2 separate regions of the Homo sapiens genome follow, and region 1 is linked to region 2. Evidence: promoter capture Hi-C in human tissues and cell types (Jung and others, 2019). All regions are on one chromosome and are shown on one strand. Each heading gives the region's core, a stretch centred on a gene start or on the middle of the fragment in contact. The rest is flanking DNA. Distances are from core to core; before and after follow the strand shown.

Region 1 (5,419 bases), core at 1,272-3,771, 1.1 Mb after region 2:
GGGTGGGGGGAGCGCTGTGGGTGTAGCATGGTGCTGTCCTCCCTGGGGTGAGTTAGAACAGCTGACGGAGACCCTGGAGTCTGTGTCTGCATGTGGGCTGCCAACCTGCCAGCCTCCCTCAGGAAAGGGGGCCGTACTGGGCAGTCCTTGGGCATGGAAGTTTTAAGGTGGAGGCAAGGGCGATGAAACCCTAGCGGGGGTGTGACAGGATTGCTGGTATAGTCTGACCTCCGATAGGCTTGAGTTAACCTGGGGGTGGGACAGGAGGGGAGTGGAGGGCTGGGGGGGAGTGTGGACCCATGCCTGCTACCCACGCTCTCTGGGATGTGTCACGGAAGGATGAAGGAGTGCTATGAGGTTCAAGCTAGGAGTCAGGCTCCCTGGGGGCGATTCGGAGGGAAGGGGCGTCCAGGGCTATTTGGGGAACTGCTTTTCCCTCCCTGCAAACACCACAGATGTCAGTGTGCAGAGGAAAGGCCCGAGGATTTATTGTGGCCTCTCCGTCCGGGGACCCAGCTCCAGGCTCCTCCTTTATAGAAAGCAAACATCTGTATTCCTCACATTGCAAAAGTCTTTGCCACAGTGACGCTTCTGATCACTGAAACTTCTTGGAAGAAAAGTTTAAGAGTTTAATTAAAAATTAAATATATTGTATTAGGTATATTTTTTAAAAGGGCAAAGTAAAAAATATTAATACAATCTGGTTGTAGAAAATACACTGCAAGAAAAGGAGCAGGTGCTTCAAAAATGTAACCCTGGCAACTCTGCCAACAGGTCCTGGGCTCGGGCTTCCTGGAAAAGCCCCGGGACACGTGGGAACTCCAGGCACCCTCGCAGGGGCCCCCCGAGGGCAGGTGGCCCAGAAGCCCAGGAAGGGTGGCCTGGGAGGTGGAACGGGCGCAAGGCCGAGCATCACTGGCTCCTAGGGGGCTGTGACATGGAACCAAACATACACGCGTATGAGAGAGCAGAGCGGCAGCGACGCGGTCGGATCGGTCGCGGGGGCTGCGGGAGGAAGCGCTGCAGGGACCCGGGCGGCGCCGGCGGCCTAGCCGGAGATGCACGCGCTGTAATAGACCGCGCTGCTGGCGTCCGACAGCGCGGAGATCAGGCTGCTCTCCTCTGGGCAGGACATGGCGCGCGGGCCCAGTTTGGCCAGTGCCACGTGGTACGGGAGCCCGGGGGCGTCGGGCCGAGTCCGGCTGCAGTTGAGGTACTGGTCGAACTCGGTGAGGTCCACGTCGGCCCACAGATCGGCGGCGGGCCCCAGCGGCTCGGCGCTCTCCAGCGGCGGGGCCTCGGGCGGCGGCGACAGCGGGCCGGGGTACGGGCCGGGCGTGCCCAGGGTGCCGTAGTACAGGCCAGCGAGCGGCGCCGCGGGGGGCGCGGTCCTGAGCGCCTCCGCCAGGGGAGCCCCGTAGCAACCGCCGGGGTCCCGCGACAACTCGGTGGGCGCGTAGGGCGCGCGGAAGGGCCGCAGCGCGCAGTCCTCGGGCGCCGCGGGCGGTGGGAAGAAGGCAGCCTCGCCGGGCTCCAGGCCGTCCAGAGGCGAGCGCTCGGGCGTGGGCAGCCCCAGGCCGTCGAACTCGGCGCCCAGCGGGGGCAGCTCGCGGAAGGCGCGAGCCGAGCCAGACGCCGCGGGGAAAGGCTCGGGCGGTGGCTGCGGGGGCGCTAATCCCGGGAGCAGGAGGCCGGGCTCCAGCCGCCGGGCCTTGCGCGCCTGCTTCTTGCGGCGCGGCCGGTACTTGTAGTTGGGGTGGTCGCGCAAGTGCTGCACGCGCAGCCGTTCGGCTTCCTCCACGAAGGGCCGCTTCTCCGCCGCGTTCAGCTCCTTCCACGCTTTGCCTGCGGGCCGTGGGCGCCAGTGAGTGGAACGCCGTCGGGCGGGTGGGCGCCGAGCCCTCCGTGCGCCCGGGACGCCCCGCGAGGGTTTGGCGCAGCCCCCGCACCCCGCGGCCCGGGACCCCTGCCCCCCCCGCCCCACCCCGGCCCGAGCCCCCCCCGCCCTCTCCCCCTTCTCTGCCGCCCTCCCGCCGCTCACCCAGCATCTTGCTGAGCACCGCGTTGTGCAGGTCCGGGTTCTGCTGAGCCAGCCGCTTGCGCTCGTCCTTTGCCCACACCATGAAGGCGTTCATGGGCCGCCGGATGCGCGACTCGTCTGCCGCCTGGCGTTCCCCGCGGCCGGCCGGGCTGAGGCCATAGCGCCCCGGCTCGGGGCTGCGCGGGGGACTGCGCTGCGGGCTGGGCGGCGAGGCGGGCGCGGCGGGCGCGGCGAGGGCGGCGGGGCCGGCGGCGAGGCCGCGCGTGTCAGCGGCGGCCCCGTGTCCCGGGGCCCATGCACAGTCGCGGCGGGCGGGCGGGTCGTCCTGTGCGCCGTAGCCGGGCGGCGATCTCTGCATTCCAGCTGGGCGCGGCCTGGGCGGAACGGAGCGCGGGAGCGCGGCGGGCGGGCGGCGGGCACTGGGGAGCCGGGCGCAAGGGCAGGCCAGGCCGGGAGGGCGGATGGCGGTGGGGACGGCGGTGGCCTCGGGCCGGGCGGGCGCCCAGATATAGCGGCTCAGGGCCAATCGGCGGCGGGGCGGGCGGGCGGGGGCGGGTCGGGGCCGCCTCCTCCCCGGGGGCTCCCTTTCTTCTCAGGCCGGGCGGGATTCCGCTGAGGCCTCCCCCGCGCACAGCCCCCCCACCTCCCCCGCGACCTCTCAGAAGGAGAGACCCCCCGGGTGGGAAAGAAAGGGCTGCTGATGAGGGCCGGTGCTGCCAGACTTTCGGAGGCGAGCTGCCACCCACCCACGGAGTCGGACCCCCGGGCAGTAACTGGGGGAGGGCGGCAGTGTCCCGCTGGTTGCCGTTCCCCGCCCCCCGCTGGGAGGCTCCATGGGGAGGAGAGGGCCCTTTTTCACACCAAGTTCTGGGGAGGCTGCCTTCCCAACAGCCGGTAAGTCCTTCCTGGAGTGCAGCGCCTTCAGAAAAGGCCCCGTCTTTGGGGAGGCGCTCTGAGTCCCCAGGGGCGCCCATGCTGGAAACTCTACACCCATGTGTAACCGTCAGCACCAGGGACTTTGAGTGCCTTTATGGGACAAGATGGTCTTCTGTCCTCACTCCCAAACCAACTCTGGCACAAGGCAAAGCTGACACAGGGAGGGAGAGAGCAGAGGCCCTGGACGGAGCCCACAAAGAGAAGGGGGAGCAGGGACGCAGAGGCTGTGGCGTCCTCCCTGCCCCCCAAGGGCCCTTGGGGAAGGGGCTGGGACCCTCAGTGGCTTGCTGGCTCCCCTGCCCAGCCCAGGCCACCGCTGCAGCAAGAGGCAGGGCCTACCTGGGTCCTTCCCACTGGCCCCTCCCTGGACCCTCTGACCTGGGCGGGGGCGGGTTCCGGAGGAGCGTCCAGCTTCCTGAATTTTCACTGTCCCCTTCCTACTCCATCAGGAGGGGATCTGGGCTCCAGAGCTGAGGGTCTCCCTCTGGAGGTCCTCCCCTCCCACTGCCACGCATGGTTCTACTGGAGAAGGGTTGGGTGTCCCCAGCAGCCCTCCAGGCAGGGTCAGAATCTCGCCACCTCGCGGCACATCTCCTCATAGCCTGGAGGCTCCCCAGCTCCCCCCGCCACACTATGCCGGGAGCCCCATGGGTAGAGGCCACAGGTCTTGTGACCCTGAGCCTGTGTGGCCAGAAGCTCTTGGTTCTCTGTCCCTGCCAGCCTCGCTAGGCCACATCCAGCCTGTGTTATGAATGGGGTGGGCCCCACGTGGGCCTTGCAGTGCCCCTTAGAGGCTGTTCCTGAACTGTCCCCAGGGGCACTCCTGCCCTGAGGCCAGCACCCCCACAGGGGCACTCCCACCGAGGGCTGTCGCGGTCGGTGTCCAGCCCTCCCCAAAGCCCCACATCACAGTCTGTCTCGACGCCCATCGTCCCAGCATACGGGGCTGGGTCTCCCAGTCTGGTCTCCAGATCTCCCGTCCCTCCAGTTTGCCCCACGGGCCTAGCACCTCGTTCACAGACACTGAGCCAGTGCTGGCTAATGGGGGGCCCGTGGGGCACCAGGAGGTGCGGCCCCTGGCTTTTCTGGGGAGGCAGGCAGGGTTGTGGCCACAGGGATGGAGGGGCTCACAGGCCTCTGCCGGATGCTGCTAGTCCTCCTTTAATCTCAGTATGGGTGGCTGGACCCTTGGCCGAGTCTCAGTGTGGGTGGGCCTCCTGGGCAGCTGGCAGGAGGGTGCAGGGGGGGTGGGGAGCCGTGCGAAGACCCCAAAGGGCTACCACTTGGCGGAAGCTCTCTCTACTCACAACCTTAGGGTTGCAGTCAGGGGTCACCAGGGCCTGGCTCAGCCTGGGCAGTGGCTGGTCACTGCGGCCTGGGAAAGAGGTCCTCGGGGTCCTCTGCAGTAGCCCTCACACGTGGGGAAGGATTTGCAGTTCCCTGGGGGCCCTGCTTGGTCCTCTGCCACCCCCGAGAGCCCAGAGTCACTGGAGCTGCTCTAAACATAGTGGCAGGCAGTGTCCGGCATGACCTCATCGCCTCCACGTCCCCCACAACACCCACCAGCAGCCGCCTTGCCTGGCGCCAGCCAGTGACCCACCCTCTTGGCTGGGCTGTGGACTCAGGTGTCCGGCTGTCATGTCCTGTGAGTCGGGGCTGGGCGGGGAGCCTCCTGAGGTGCTCCTCTCCCTCTGCGTGGCAGGGAGGAGGCTGGCAGCCCTGGCCCAGTGTCCAGATGGGACAAAGTGGGGGTAGGGACCACAGCCAGGGTGGCGTGATCTGGAGCCGCAGGGCTGGGGGGACTTGCCAGGGCTGTAGAGGGGATGGTGTGGGTGTGGCCAGCTGTGCTGAGGGAGGGGCATCCGATGTGTGTCTGTGCATCTGTGTGTGGCCTGTGTCTGTCTGTCTGCCTGGGTGTGGGGTGAGGGGGACTCTAGTGCTGGAGGCTGCCCAGGGCCTTGAGAGCCAGGCAAGCTGGACGTTCCCAGGAAGAGATGAGGACCCATAATAGGTCCAGGACCAGGGGTCCTGCTCCGTGAAGTTTGGAGGGTCCCCAAGGCTTCTCTGGCCACTGAGCTTGGGCCCCAGCATTCTCCAAAAGAGGGCAGGCAGTTCATGAGTCTAGGGGCATTCCTCTGCCTCTGGAACCCCACCTCAGTCTGTCCTGGACTAGGTGGGCTATGGCCCACCCTTGGGAAGGAGCCTATCTGTAGCCCCCAAGCCCCAGTCAGAAAGGCAGAGTTTGGGGGCAAGCTTTCTCTACAAGGGTGGGGCTGGCCTGGGCACTGAGTGGACACTGTCCTCCTGCCTGCCACCTGCCCCTCTCCCTCAGCTTGGACAGGAACCCCGGCCTCTGAGTGAGGTCCGCAAAGGATGCTGGGTAGTCCCCCTCCGTGGCTCTGGGTGGGAGCTTGGCTTGGCGCGGCTCTGGGCCGGGATGGC
Region 2 (5,232 bases), core at 2,209-4,708:
ATGTTTCCCATTCCCATCACATCTCTCAACTTCTTGCTCTCTCACCAAAAACCATCAAATGGGGAGTTTTGGCACCTTCACCCTGGACTTCCCTGCCGCCTGGAAACTGCTAACATAGCTTCTCGAAACTGGACACCCTGTGGCTTCAGGGAGCGCCTTTGAAGCCCCTGGTTCTTGTCAGACCCCCCGGCCACTTTCTTGCTACCCTTCATAGGCAGCTTCTTCCTTAGTGAATACAGCTTGCAGCTCTGCATTCTGGACTTGATCCACTCCTTGTCTCCATGGGCTTCCTCTGAATACTGTACCCATCAACTCTCAACTCTAGCCCTGCTCTTCCCCTTGAGCTTTAGATGTGTCCCACAGGCACCTCCAATTGAATGAGGCCCACGGTGAACTCACCACCTTTCCCTCGTTGTTGCACCTCCTTCTTCTTCATGATCATTCTCAGTTGGTGCCACCACCTCATCAGCTGGGCTACTCACCCGCATCACTCTGGTCTTCCTTCTTAGCTCCCACAAATTGTCAGTCACCAAGGACTGCTCATTTCCATCCTGACTGAAGGTCTCTTTCCATTTTTGCTAGTATTGCTTCCAGTTAAGATCCTCATAATCATTCACTCATTTATTCCTTCGTCACTCAACAAATAAATATTTATGGAGCTCCTATTACGATTTAGCCATAATCAACTCACATGAAGCTTACCATTTTATGCTGAATCATGACATCCCATCAGACAGCAACCACACGGACCGTGTGCTAAGAGCTACGAAGAGCTAAGTTAGGATTCTGTGCAAGCATAAAGGAAAGGCACTCAATCCAGCTTTGTTAGGGAAGACTTCCCCGAGAAAGCCACGTCTCTACTGAGGAGGTGAGCAGGAGTTAGCCTAGGGAAGGCTGTTAGCTAGGGCCCAGACTGAGAGCACAGCGATAACAAAGCTTGTTGACATGAGAAAACCTCCAATCAGCTGGGATGGCTGGAGCAGAGAGTAAGATCAGGAGTGCAGACTTATAGCTGCGCTAACTTTACACAGGCAACTGGGGAGTCCCCAAGGGATGTTAGAAGGATAGAGTCAATGAGTGATGGCTTTTGGAGAGATCACCCTGTCTGCTATGTGAGAGGTAGTGACAGGACTTCTGGAGCTCAACAGGAGTTACGGAGACATCCTGGCAATCCAAAAAGCAAAGATGATGGCTTCCACGTTATGGTGGAAGAGGCTGGGAAACAACACAAAGGAGCCAGTTTCTAGAGAGGATTAAGGAGGGGGCTCGAGCAGGACTTGGTAACCGGTTGGCTGTTGGGAGGAGGAGCATTAACCTGTGACCCACAGGCAGGCACTGAGACAGCCTCTTTGGACTGGAATGTTAAGGAATGTCGCCTTAAGGCGCTAGCACTCAAGCTTTCTGCTCGTGCATCCCCTTGCACACTTTCTCCTTGACGTTCAGGCTGGGCATGGTGGCTGACGCCTGTAAACCCAGCACTCCCAGAGGCCGAGGCGGGAGGATGGCTTGAGCCCAGGAGATCGAGACCAGCCTGGGCAAGAAGGCAAGACCCCGTCTCTAAAAAACTTTAAAAAATAAAAATAGGCCGGATGCGGTGGCTCATGACTGTAATCCGAGCACCTTGGGAGGCCGAGGTGGGTGATCATTTGAGGTCAGGAGTTCGAGACCAGCCTAGCCAACATGGTGAAACCCCACCCGTACTAAAAATACAAAATAAGTAGCCGGGCGTGGTGGCGGGTGCCTGTAGTTCCAGCTACTCGGGAGGCTGAGGCAGGAGAATCACTTGAACCCAGGAGGCGGAGGTTGCAGTGAGTCGAGATCATGACAGTGCACTCCAGCCTGGGCAACAAAGTGAGACTCCTTCTCAAAAAATAGAATAAAATAAAATCAAAATAGGCCGGGAGCGGTGGCTCACGCCTGTAATCCCAGCACTTTGGGAGTCCGAGGCGGGCGGATCACGAGGTCAAGACACTGAGACCAGCCTGACCAACAAGGGGAAACCCCGTCTCTACTAAAAATACAAAAATTAGCTGGGCGTGGTGGTGCGCCCCTGTGGTCCCAGCTACTCGGGAGGCTGAGGCAGGAGAATCGCTTGAACCCGGGAGGCGGAGGTTGCAGTGAGCCGAGATGGCGCCACTGCGCTCCAGCCTGGGCGAGAGTGAGACTTCGTCTCAAAATAAATAACTAAATAAAGACCAATAACTGTTTCCCATAGGGTTATGTAGTTGCAAATGAAAAAATTACTGGCATGTACTGCCTCTGCATATGAAGCATAATTTTGTCAAGACCTTATACCTGCAGATTTAGCTCTTTCGATTAACGGAAAATGTCCAAAATCAGTCTCCTCCAACCTATTTGCCGAACTGGACTTACTGTCGCTGAGTAGACCGACCGACATAGCTTACACGTTGTTCAGCTCGCTTGTAAGCAAACACACGAAACCACCTCACCCCTGACTTCAGAAAGAAGCCGTCCCGTGAATTCCTCACAGATGAAATCAGGAGCTGCCCCTCAAGGACTCTATTTCTTCCTTCGGCTCTATCAAATATTTTAAGGTACTTCCCAGCAACGGAAACATGGGACCCTGCAATGACAGACTTCGCATTCCTCCTGAGCGGACAGGCAATAAGCAAGTAAACGCGCAAATACCCAAGTGCGGCCTCAACCCGCGCTCCTGCCGGGAGGGTCTCCAGTCACCGAGTAACCCCGGCCCTGCCCCGCGCCGCCGCCGGGACTCCGCCCCGCAAGCAAGTGGGGTCTCCTTTGTCCCGCGCGCCCTGGCCGCGTCCCGCCCTTCGGCGTAGCCCATGGGAGGCGCCCTGAGGGCAGGGCCCTTCTGATTCCCCACCTGGCCTCGAGTGAGGACGCGCTCAACAACATCTCGAGTAAAGCGGGGGAACTCGCTTCAACGCGCAGACAGCACAGCTCTCGCCCAGCCCGGTCTCGGGTCAGCCGTCTCTCCCTGGACCTCAGGGACACTAGCCCTGGAAGGCCGCCGGTCGGGAGGGGACTCCCTCCCCGTCTGAGGGGCGGCCGCGGACACCCGGCGCCTTTCCCCCGCCCCACCCCGTGCGGCCTCACGCAAACGACAGGAAAAAAGCTGGGACCTTCGCCTCCGACTCAGTGTAGACGTCGCCATCCCGGTTCCAGATTTCCGCGCTCCAACGCCTCCGCAGCAGCCATCTTGCCAGAGGGCCGACGCCTTTTGACTCTGGCGCCAACCCGTAGTGCGTGGTCGCCGCGAGGGGAGTTCTGCGCAAGTACGGAAGCTGAGGTTCCGCGCTTCCGGGAGGCCGTCCGCCCCGCCCCCTCGCGGGGGCGCTTCATTGGTCATCGGCTCGCGCTCTCGCGCTCTCTTGCTGTCGCGAGAGGTGCTGAGGGGCGGCCTCCGGTGCGCCTGCCCTCCCGCTCCCCGCCCCCGCCCCCGCCCCCGCCTCCGCCGCGGCCCCCACCTCTGCCTCCTTCTACTCGGGCGCCCCGGCGGCCGCCACCTCTCCCCAGCCCAGGAGAGGCTGCGGAGCCGCAGCCGCCCAGACCGCGCAGCGCGGGAGGCAGGTTCCGCACGGTAAGATGGCGGCGGCGGGCCCGGGCGGCCGGGCCGAGCGTCTCCCGGGGCCGGGCCGGGCGGGCAGGCGGGATGTGGCCGGGGTGCGCGCCGCCCCCGCTCTGGGGGCCTTGGAAGCGCCGGCGCTGGCAGGTGCGGAATTGGGGCGCGCAGTGAGTCCAGGCCCGGACGGCCGCCCCGCGCCGGTGCCCAGGGGGCAGTCAGGGCTCAGCCTCCAGGCGCGCGGCCTCAGGCGCTGGTGTTCTGGGGCGGTCCCGGCCAGCCTGAGGGGCGGCGGTAGCTGTCTCTGTGGAGGAGCGACGTCCGTAACGAAGTCTTTTTAATAAAATCTGCTGCTTTAAAGCAGAAACCGAGCGGGTGAGGATGTAAAGTGTGGCATGGAAAGTAGGAGTCTTCAGCACACGGGTGTTTTCTTCTGCTGAATCTTTTTATGCTGGAGTTTGAGACTACCGAGTTCTTCCTGCTAACAGGACTGGCCAGTTCTACAAAGTTGTTGCTTTTCATGGGCGCACGTAACTGCCCGGAGTGGAAGCGCTGTGAGTGCCGATCACCGAATGGGCCGAGAGAAAAGGTGCCTTTTCCTAGGGAGCTCTTAACGTTGGTCCTAGGGCCGGGCGCGGTGGCGGAGGTCGAAGTGGGCGGATCACTTGAGCCCGCGAGTTCGAGACCAGCCGTGGCAACAGCGAGACTCCCTTCTCTGCTAAAAATAAAAAAATTAGCCAGGCAGAGTGGTGCGCTCCTGTTGTCCCAGTTACTCTGGAGGCTGAGGTGGGAGGATCGCTTGAGCCCAGGAGGTCGAGGCTGCGGTGAGCCATGATCGCGCCACTGCCCTCCAGCCTGGGCGACAGAGCGAGGCTCTGTCTCAAAAAAAAAAGAAAAAGAAAATGAGTCCTTAAGTTACCATTAATTGTCGTGAATAAAAAGTTGGTCTCAGTGAGTTTTGCAGTTGACAACGAAAGATGGGTGTTCGTGTGTGACAGCGACTCCTGGTTTCTCCTCCACTTTACCTGCCGCTCCACATCAAGTTTTCTTCTGCTGGTGCCACTTTCTCTGCTTTACCTTCAAGGTTGGCATCCTCCAAGTAATGGCGATTCTCATTCCCTATCTACGCTCTTCCTATGGTCTTTGCTGAATTCTTGGCTTTAAATATCCCTGTGCCCCAGCACCGCCCCCCCCGCCCCTTATTTCACTAATTCATGTTTTCAGCTCTGAGCTCAGGATCTGTAATTCAGACACCTGCTTGATTTCTCCAGACGCATGTCTAATAGTCACGTCAAACTTGCCCTGCTTCTCAAACCTGTTCTTCTTCCAGTCCTTCCTCCTTATTTGTGGCCCCATCTTGCAGGGCCTCTCATGCTTGAAACCTGTGACCATCTTCTATTCTTCCCTCTCTTTTGTCCGGTAATCTGTCTAGCAGCAGCCATTGACTCTGGCCAAAGCATCTTGATCTCACCTTGCTCTCCATCTCTTCTGCCGATGTTCTCTCTCGCTTGGGTGTCTCCCTAAGGGACTGGCTGCTCAGATCTCACCACCCTGCATTCATCCCATTTTCAGCCAAGAGACCAAAGTTTTTTAATTTATTGAAACACTTTAGCAGTACTTCGTATAAAGTAGTATGTGTAACGTATGTATCAGTGGCAAAAGAGAAAGACAGAGTGGACGGTGGC

The links. Contacts are between HindIII fragments. The study calls those that stand out against the background at their distance.
Region 1: the fragment with the promoter of SOX18 here is called in contact with the fragment with the promoter of GID8 in region 2 in 1 of the 25 tissues and cell types used here (dorsolateral prefrontal cortex).

What each region holds. Positions count from the first base shown.
Region 1 is chr20:64,047,118-64,052,536 of GRCh38, forward strand. SOX18 (SRY-box transcription factor 18) reads right to left here and starts at 2,522. Exons shown (of 2, transcript NM_018419.3): 1 at 2,042-2,522; 2 at 465-1,845. The coding sequence starts at 2,399. The coding sequence ends at 1,049. RefSeq lists a silencer at 2,212-2,261, an enhancer at 2,393-3,074 and promoters at 2,399-3,507, 2,402-3,299, 2,402-2,662. The HindIII fragment of the contact is 20,169 bases long and covers 1-5,419 here.
Region 2 is chr20:62,934,689-62,939,920 of GRCh38, forward strand. GID8 (GID complex subunit 8 homolog) reads left to right here and starts at 3,459. Exons shown (of 5, transcript NM_017896.3): 1 at 3,459-3,565. It also overlaps a transcript of DIDO1 not described here. RefSeq lists silencers at 2,660-2,709, 2,980-3,029, 3,400-3,629, 3,700-3,829 and an enhancer at 3,525-4,193. The HindIII fragment of the contact is 10,021 bases long and covers 1,167-5,232 here.